Linked DNA regions of Homo sapiens: region 2 is linked to region 1. The links are contacts of gene promoters, found by promoter capture Hi-C in blood cells and fetal thymus (Javierre and others, 2016). All regions are on one chromosome and are shown on one strand. Each heading gives the region's core, a stretch centred on a gene start or on the middle of the fragment in contact. The rest is flanking DNA. Distances are from core to core; before and after follow the strand shown.

Region 1 (3,845 bases), core at 963-3,462:
GCATGAACCCAGGAGGCAGAGCTTTCAATGAGCCAAGATTGCGTCACTGCACTCCAGCCTGGGTGACAGAGCGAGACTCCACCTCAAAAAAAAAAAAAAAAAAAAAATTCACAGGTCAAACAGGAAGTATCGAGGGAAATTCTTAAAATACGCTGAACTGGATGAAAATTAAAATACAACATAACAAAATTTGTGGATACAGCTAAAGCAGTGCTTACAGGGAAACTTGTGGCACTGTTTATAATAGAAAATAGGAAAGTCTCAAATCAATAATCTACAGTTTTGCCTCAAGGATTTAGAAAAGTATAAAATAAATGCAAAGCAAGCAGAAAGAAGGAAATAAAAAAAAGCAGAAATCAATGAAATTTGAAACTAGAAAAACACTGGAGAAAAATCAAACCCAAAGTCGGTTCTTTGAAACTATCAATAACATTCACAAGCCTCTAGCAAGACTAAAAAAGAAAGAATACACAGATTATCAACATCAGGAACAGAAAAGGGATATCCCTGTAAACCTTGTAGCACTAATCAGGGAAGAAGGGAGGACTCGGCATGTCCCGAGGTCAGCTGCCCTCTCACCTGCTTCCTCAGAGCCCTGTGGTGCCTACTGCCTCAGGATCACTTGGATTTTGTCACGAGGTTACAGTTCCCCTTAACCACTCTACAGATAATAACCTGGACATTATAAACCGTTAAGTTTTCCATTTGAGATATTCTTTCAGGACCTGGGGACTGATGCCAGCTGGTCTAAAGGGCCCCGCAAGCGGATTCACCAAAGAATGCAGTTTCCACACCCTGATAATTCCATGGCCCTTACCTCCACCAACTGACAACACCAATCTTCCAGCTCCTCACAGTCCTGTTCCTCTAAAACCCCCAGCTCAGGCTGGGTGTAGGTGGCTCATGCCTGTAATCCCAGCACTTTGGGAGGCCAAGGCAGGTGGATCACCTGAGATCAGGAGTTCAAGACCAGCCTGGCCAACATGGTGAAACCCCGTCTCTACTAAAAATATAAAAAATTAGCCGGGCATGGTGGCGCGTGCTTGTAATCCCAGCTACTCAGGAGGCTGAGTGAATCACTTGAACCTGGGAGGTGGAGGTTGCAGTGAGCTGAGATTGTGCCACTGCACTCCAACCTGGACGACAGAGTGAGACTCCGTCTAAAAAAAAAAAACCGCTCAGATCTCCTTGGGGAGATGGATTGAGGCCTCCTTCCACCTCCCTGCTGGGCCCCTGCCAGCCTTAAACTCTTTCTCTGCTGCAAACCCCACTGTCTCAGTGTATTGGCCTGTGGCCCCCACAGCACCTGACTGAACCTGTTGGTCCAGTAACACCTGCAGACCACACACAGACATTAACAGGCTAACAACAGAACACCAGAAACAACTCAACACACACACTCCACAAGTTAGCTCAAATAAGCCAATGCCACAAAACCCCACACAGCCAAGACTCGCGGTGAACTAATATGAACGGTTCTCTAACAACCAGAGATACAGAATTTGTCATTTAAAAGCTTCAAAAACAGAAATTGACATGTCCATATGGTTTCACTGGAAAATTCCAGGAAACATTCAAACAATGAGCACACACTCTACAGAACCTCTTCTAAATATAAGAGAAGGCAACACTTCTCAGCAGTTTATGAGCTCGGCTTCACCTTGACGCCAAAACCAGACAAAAATAAGCCAAAAAGAAGGAAACCGGCCACCAACATCCTCAAGAAGGCCGAGCGCAACAATCACCACAGAGTGGGCCCAGGAGAACCAGGGAGGTGATCCCCAGCGGGAGGGCGGGCTGCGCTCCTGGACAGCAAGGCCGGCTCCCTCTTCTCAGCGGATGTAACCCCCAGTCACGGAACCAGTGACCCGATAGACAGGCAGGGGCCGGGACGCCGGGACCCGAACGCGGGCAGGGGCCGCACCTGGGCACGGGGGGTGGGTCGCTCACCTGGACACGCGCGCCCCGCTCGCCCGCGACCGTTCCGGACGCCCGCGGCGCCTGCGTAGACGGGTCCCGCCTGCCCACGGTCCGCCGCCGCCCCGGGAAGCTCGGCACCCACCCCCCCGCCACCTCACGCTTGCACCCCCGCCCGCCCTCCGGCGCACCCAGGTCGCGGTGAGGCCCTAAGCCGCTCTTCGCCCGAACCGCCTCCTCGCTCAGCACCAGCCGAGGGCCAGCCCGCGCCATGTTTCAAACGGAGCCCTCGGACGGCGCCTGCGCGGCGGGCGGGGCGAGGCTACGAGAGGGGCGGGACCTGCGTCGGCAGAACCGAGAGCCTGGCGGGACGGGGCGGGGCCTGCGCGGCGGGGCGAGGGGCGTGGCTGGGGGAGGGGGCGGGACTGCGTGGGCGGAACCAAGAGCCTGGCGGGGGGTTCTCCTGAATGGCGGTTCTCCCAGGTACTGGCCACGCGACCCCAGCCCCCGCCCCAGATAGCTCCCTGTCAAGGCTTCCCTGGGCGCGGCCGCCTTCTAGGCCCCGGCCCTTGACACACGCGGTGTCCTCCCGGGGAAACCCCGAGTAGGCGCGGTGGAATCGCGGCTGGTGGTGGGCATGGGGACCCTGCCCCATCCACACTCCGCTCCCACCCTGAACCCAGCGCCCCCGGGGACCCCCGACTCACCTAGACTCCCCACCCAACCCGACCCCCCCGCGGGGACCCCTCCAGACACCCCAGCACCCGCCCGGAGCCTTGTCTGCTGCACCTCCCGTCCAGCCCCGGGCCTCCCAGAGGTGGGCGGGAGCTGAGCTTCTCCCCAGCCAGTCACTCCCCACGGCCGGTCCTTCTCCACCCCAGAACCTCCAGAGATGTCACAGGCCCAGCACTGTGGCTCGTGGCTGACCGCGCCCTGGAGGGTCTCGCTGTGTTTATCCTTGTGAGGTCCTTCTACAGAGCTTTCAAGGAAGACAGAGTTCAGCCTGTTTATTGGGAAGACTTTAATCCTGCTCAAGACATCTACTGTGTCACCGTACCACTGTGGCCCAGCGCCTGGTGGAGTGAATCCAGACCCCCAGGGGTGTCCCCTCCCCGCCTTTCTCCTGGTGTCTAGGGGCACCCAGAAACCCTCACCCCAGATTAGACCAGCTCGTTGGCAACATCCCTGGTATGTCACAGCCTGGGGGGTGATAGACAAGGCAGGGTAGTGGTGGGGGGTACGTATGGTGGTAGTAGACGAGGGTATACACAGACAGAGGGTGTACATGGGGAATGTGTGCAGGGGCTGTGTGCAGGGAGTGTGTGTGGATGGTGTAGGGGAGTGTGTAGGGGAGTGTGTAGGGGGTGTGTGCAGAGGTTGTACACGGGGTGTGCAGGAGGTGTACTCAGAATGTGTTCAGGGAGTGTGTGCAGAAGGTGTACATGGGGTGTATGCAGGAGGAGTGTGCAGAGGGTGTACATGTAGGGGGTGTGTGCAGACAGTATACAGAAGGGGTGTGTGCAGAGGATGCACACAGGGTCTCTGCAGGGAGTATGTGCAGTGCTGTACATAAGGAGTATGCAGGGGGTATATACAGGGTGTATGTGCAAGGGGTGTGTGCAACAGTGTGTGCAGGAGGTGTGTGCAGGGTCTATGTGTGGGGGTGTGTGCAACAGTGTGTGCAGGAGGTGTGTGCAGGAGGTGTGTGCAGGAGCTATGTGTGGGGGTGTGTGCAACAGTATGTGCAGAGGTGTGTGTAGGGGCTATGTGTGGGGGTGTGTGCAACAGTGTGTGCAGGAGGTGTGTGCAGGAGGTGTGTGCAACAGTGTGCAGGGGGTGTACACAAGGTGTGTGCAGGAGGTGTGTGTAGATGTGTGTGCAGGAGGTATACACAGGGTTTGTGCAGAGGATGTGTGTGGGAGGTGTGT
Region 2 (3,845 bases), core at 374-2,873, 160 kb after region 1:
AGCTGTGCTGTCCTTTGGAAACAAGCCACTGCAGTCCACATCAATATGCTCTGCAGACGGTGATGACTGGAACGTACAATACAGGACATTACTGATAAAAACGCATCCGCAAGAACAGGCAAAACTACGTGAGGTCTACTGTCCAGAAGACAGGAAACACATGCTACATTTCAGGAAAAGTTTTCATTAGAAAGTTATTATCAGCCGGGCATGGTGGCTCACGCCTGTAATCCCAGCACTTTGGGAAGCCGAGACGGGCGGATCATGAGGTCAGGAGATTGAGACCATCCTGGCTAACACAGTGAAACCCCATCTCTATTAAAAATACAAAAAAATTAGCGGGGCATGGTGGCACGCGCCTGTAGTCCCAGGTACTCGGGAGGCTGAGGCAGGAGAATGGCGTGAAGCCGGGATACACCTACTATGTACCCACAAAAATTAAAATTAAAAAGTTTTTTTAAGTCTAAGGTTTGACCACTCAGAAAATTCTTTCAACTCACACGCCTCATGCTATGTTCCGTAAATACGTTCTCAGAGTAACACTGAATAAAATGATTAAGAGCCAGTCCACTATAAGAAATCCGAGAGCTTCCTAAGTGAAAAAGTACTTCCTAAAATTCTGCACATTTTAAAAGACTTTTATTTAATCTGGATTATTTTTCCCAAGAACCTCAATTCCGTGTGAGAATGTTTCTAGTGGAGCACTTCAACCTCCCCTGAGAAAGGCCGGGGTGATGGAACTCACGAGACTCCCCAAGGACAGAAAAACACTCACAACGTGGAAAGACAAAATCAAGACACAAACTGTGCAAGGTGCACACATGCACAGCCCAGCCTAGTGGCCATGGCCCGGGAGGGCCCAGGGATGGGACTGGAATCCAGCTTCCCACTCACTGGCCGTGTCCCCTGCCTCCTGCCTCATGGGCTGCTGACACACACCAGGCACGGAGGGGGAGACCTGCACTGTCAAGGCTACAGAATGGGCGGCCATGAGGATGAGCGGCAGCCAGGGGAGGTGAGTCCAGGGCTGTGCACAGAGAGCCACAGTTGCACAGAGCGCCACGGTTGCACAGAGAGCCACCATTGCACAGAGCGTCACGGTGACCATTCTCTGCAGGGGGCGCTTCCTTTCTCTTCTGTCCTTCTGTATTGAAATGCAAATTCTCTATAAGCAGATACCAGTAAACAAAGCACACAAAAAAATATGCCTTACTGCTAAAAAAAAAAAAAAAAAAAATGAGGTTTATTCAATTTCTCCACTGCAGTGACAAGATGGGCGGAAGAAAAAAAAGAAGAAGAAGAAATTCCAATACATTACTTAATATTATTTTCTAACCATGAAACCATGGAAAATTGAAATAAATTTTCATTTCGGCTACCTAATCTTAAAGAATTTCAGAATACCCCCACCACTGCACCATTTTTCAACACTACTTCAAATTAATCCACGCACAGAGTGGTTCATGGTCCCTTAAGTGAAGTGACAAAACCTCGTACTAGGATACAAAAAGGATGATGGAGTTTCCTCGAACTATCTAGACTTGTAACTGTTTATTTTTGAAAGACTCACTGCTATAGGATATTGGTGAAGAGAAACCAAACCCGGGATGCTGGAAGCCAGGGAGGTGATGTAGTGGTCTCCTCCCCAGTGGGGTGGCCATGTGCCAGTCCCAGCCCCGCCTGGGACCATGTGTCCTCACCTGTAAAATGGGGTAACAACACACCTGCCTCAGGGTGTCACTGCAAGGAAGCAAGTCAGCACACGGTGAGCACAGGAAACAGGCCCAGCCCAGAGCTGCACCCTGTCAAGCTCAACGGGGGCTGGAGGCCAAGAGCAGAGATCCCTCCCAAGCACAACAGTGTTCAAACACCAGAGGCTGGGCACCAGCAGGCAGAGCAGAAAGAAGACACCCCTGGGCTGGAAACCAAGGCTGTGGGCTCGGAGCACCTGCCCAGAGCAACACCCTGAGGTCGGCTCTCCAGCAAGCAGCTGCAGGCCCCTCTCACACACGGCTTCTACCTAAGAGCCAACACAGGCGCCAGGTTAGCTTTACCTTGTGTAGGTGTTTAAGACCCACGTCAAGAGGCTCACGATCTCATTGGCTTCCAGGTCTTCCGATGCGAGGTCCTGCATCCGCGTGCTCAGGGCTTGGTGGTACATGTTCAGGAGGTTCTTAAAGATCTCATAGTGGGGAGGAAAGCACTGAACCATCAGGTTTTTGGCGACAATGAGGTCATCCAGGACGTACTTCCTTATAATTTCCAGGTGGCGGACAAGCCACATCTTGTCAGACTCTCTGGTATCTGCCTGTGTGCCCTCAATTCTGGTGGTCACAGTCCTCTCCAAGATGGTGAACATTTTCTCCTTCCAATTCTTGGGCCTCCCAGGAGGAACAAAGCCAGTTTGCTTTTTCCGGTCAAGTATGCGCCTGTCAATTTTCTCTTCCCTTTCAATGATCCTGACAACTGAGACCAGCAAGGTGGGGTCACGGCGGACAGTGACCAGTGACCTCTGCAGCACCATCCACAGCTGCTTAGCCAGCTCATCAGAGAGCCCCTGCGTGCTGCCAAAGTAGCCATGGATGAGGGTCATGTCACGCGTGTTCCCACTGTCCATGCGGTACTGCTCGTACATCAGCCCGTCCCGGGAGCACTCCAGGTCCATCAGCTTCCGGTGGGCTTGCAGGAGTGCCCCTTGTTCAATTAGGTCCTGGGTCTCCCTCACAATCTCAGGCACTAGGGAGAAGGCACAAGACACAACATAAACAACCACCACCACATAAAAGGCTGCCTGCATGCGGTGTTCTGGGAACACGGCAGAGCAGGAAGCCACATCTCCCTAGCTAACAACAACTGCAATGGCAGGATGTGTCTGAGGTAACTATCTTTGGAACTCTGGAGTCTATTAAAGGCATAAATGGTAAACTGTGGTTAACTGTGGTCATTTGCAGCTCTCAGCTGGGCAGTGGCTACCGAGGCCCCACCTCCCACCCCGCAGGCAGCTGTGCATGTGCTGATGTGTTCCTAAAGCTGCCTGCACACAGCCTGCAGCCTGGCTGGGCAAAAAGAACCCTGTCCTCCACACCGGAGATCTGTACTCAGATCACTGACTGCTGCTTCTGACCACAGAGGTGCGAAGAGGTAAGTGGCCACTGTTGCATCTTCCCCTGTTCACAGGTCCCTCCTCACCCCCACAGAGCTCCAGGGAATTTAAAGGGCCAATGTCTTCACCACCCCCTTCATCTGTTCCCCTTCTTGAAAGCCAGATATTTATGAATGAAGACATTCAAAAGTAACTGCATTTATAGGAAAAATTCGGAAGTGGCCAATGCATGCCCAGGCAAAGGCATAGGCTCAGAAAAGACTTGACACGACCTTGAAGTTCACACCTCAGGCTGTGCCTTGGCACAGAGAGCCTACAACAACCAAAAACAAGAATCATCAACCTGGGAAGGGGATCTGATTTCCAGAGTTATCACATTATTCGATTCAAGTGTCCATTTTTCAACAACAAAAACATCACAAGGCACCCAAAGAAAGAAGAAAGTATGGCCCATTCAAAGGAAAACATAAGAAACTGTTCCTGTAAAAGATCTGATGGCAGATCTACTAGAGAAAGACTTTAAAACAACGATTTAAAGATGCCTAAGGAACTTAAAGATGTGAAGAAAGACATGTATGAGCAAAATGGAAATACCAATAATGAGACAGAAAATCCAAAAGGAAACCAAACAGAAAATATGAAGCTGAAAAGTACAATAAATGAAATGAAAAATTCACTAAAGGGATTCAAAGGCAGATCTGCACAGGCGCAAGAAAGAATCAGTGAATGTGAAGACAGGACA

The links. Contacts are between HindIII fragments. The CHiCAGO score rates a contact against its expected background, and 5 or more counts as called.
Region 2: a fragment that was not itself captured here is called in contact with the fragment with the promoter of CEP72 in region 1 in 2 of 17 cell types (M2 macrophages and naive B cells); the score reaches 6.9 in M2 macrophages.

The regions. Positions count from the first base shown.
Region 1 is chr5:610,707-614,551 of GRCh38, reverse strand. CEP72 (centrosomal protein 72) reads right to left here and starts at 2,212. Exons shown (of 12, transcript NM_018140.4): 1 at 2,109-2,212. The coding sequence starts at 2,190. It overlaps CEP72-DT (CEP72 divergent transcript), which reads left to right and starts at 2,342. Exons shown (of 3, transcript NR_103444.1): 1 at 2,342-2,400; 2 at 2,799-3,105. RefSeq lists enhancers at 1,429-2,358, 2,359-3,289. The HindIII fragment of the contact is 7,839 bases long and covers 1,519-3,845 here.
Region 2 is chr5:452,261-456,105 of GRCh38, reverse strand. EXOC3 (exocyst complex component 3) reads right to left here. Exons shown (of 13, transcript NM_007277.5): 4 at 2,055-2,736. Among named protein-coding and RNA genes, the nearest start is that of EXOC3, 11 kb to the right of the region's middle. The HindIII fragment of the contact is 5,460 bases long and covers 1-3,845 here.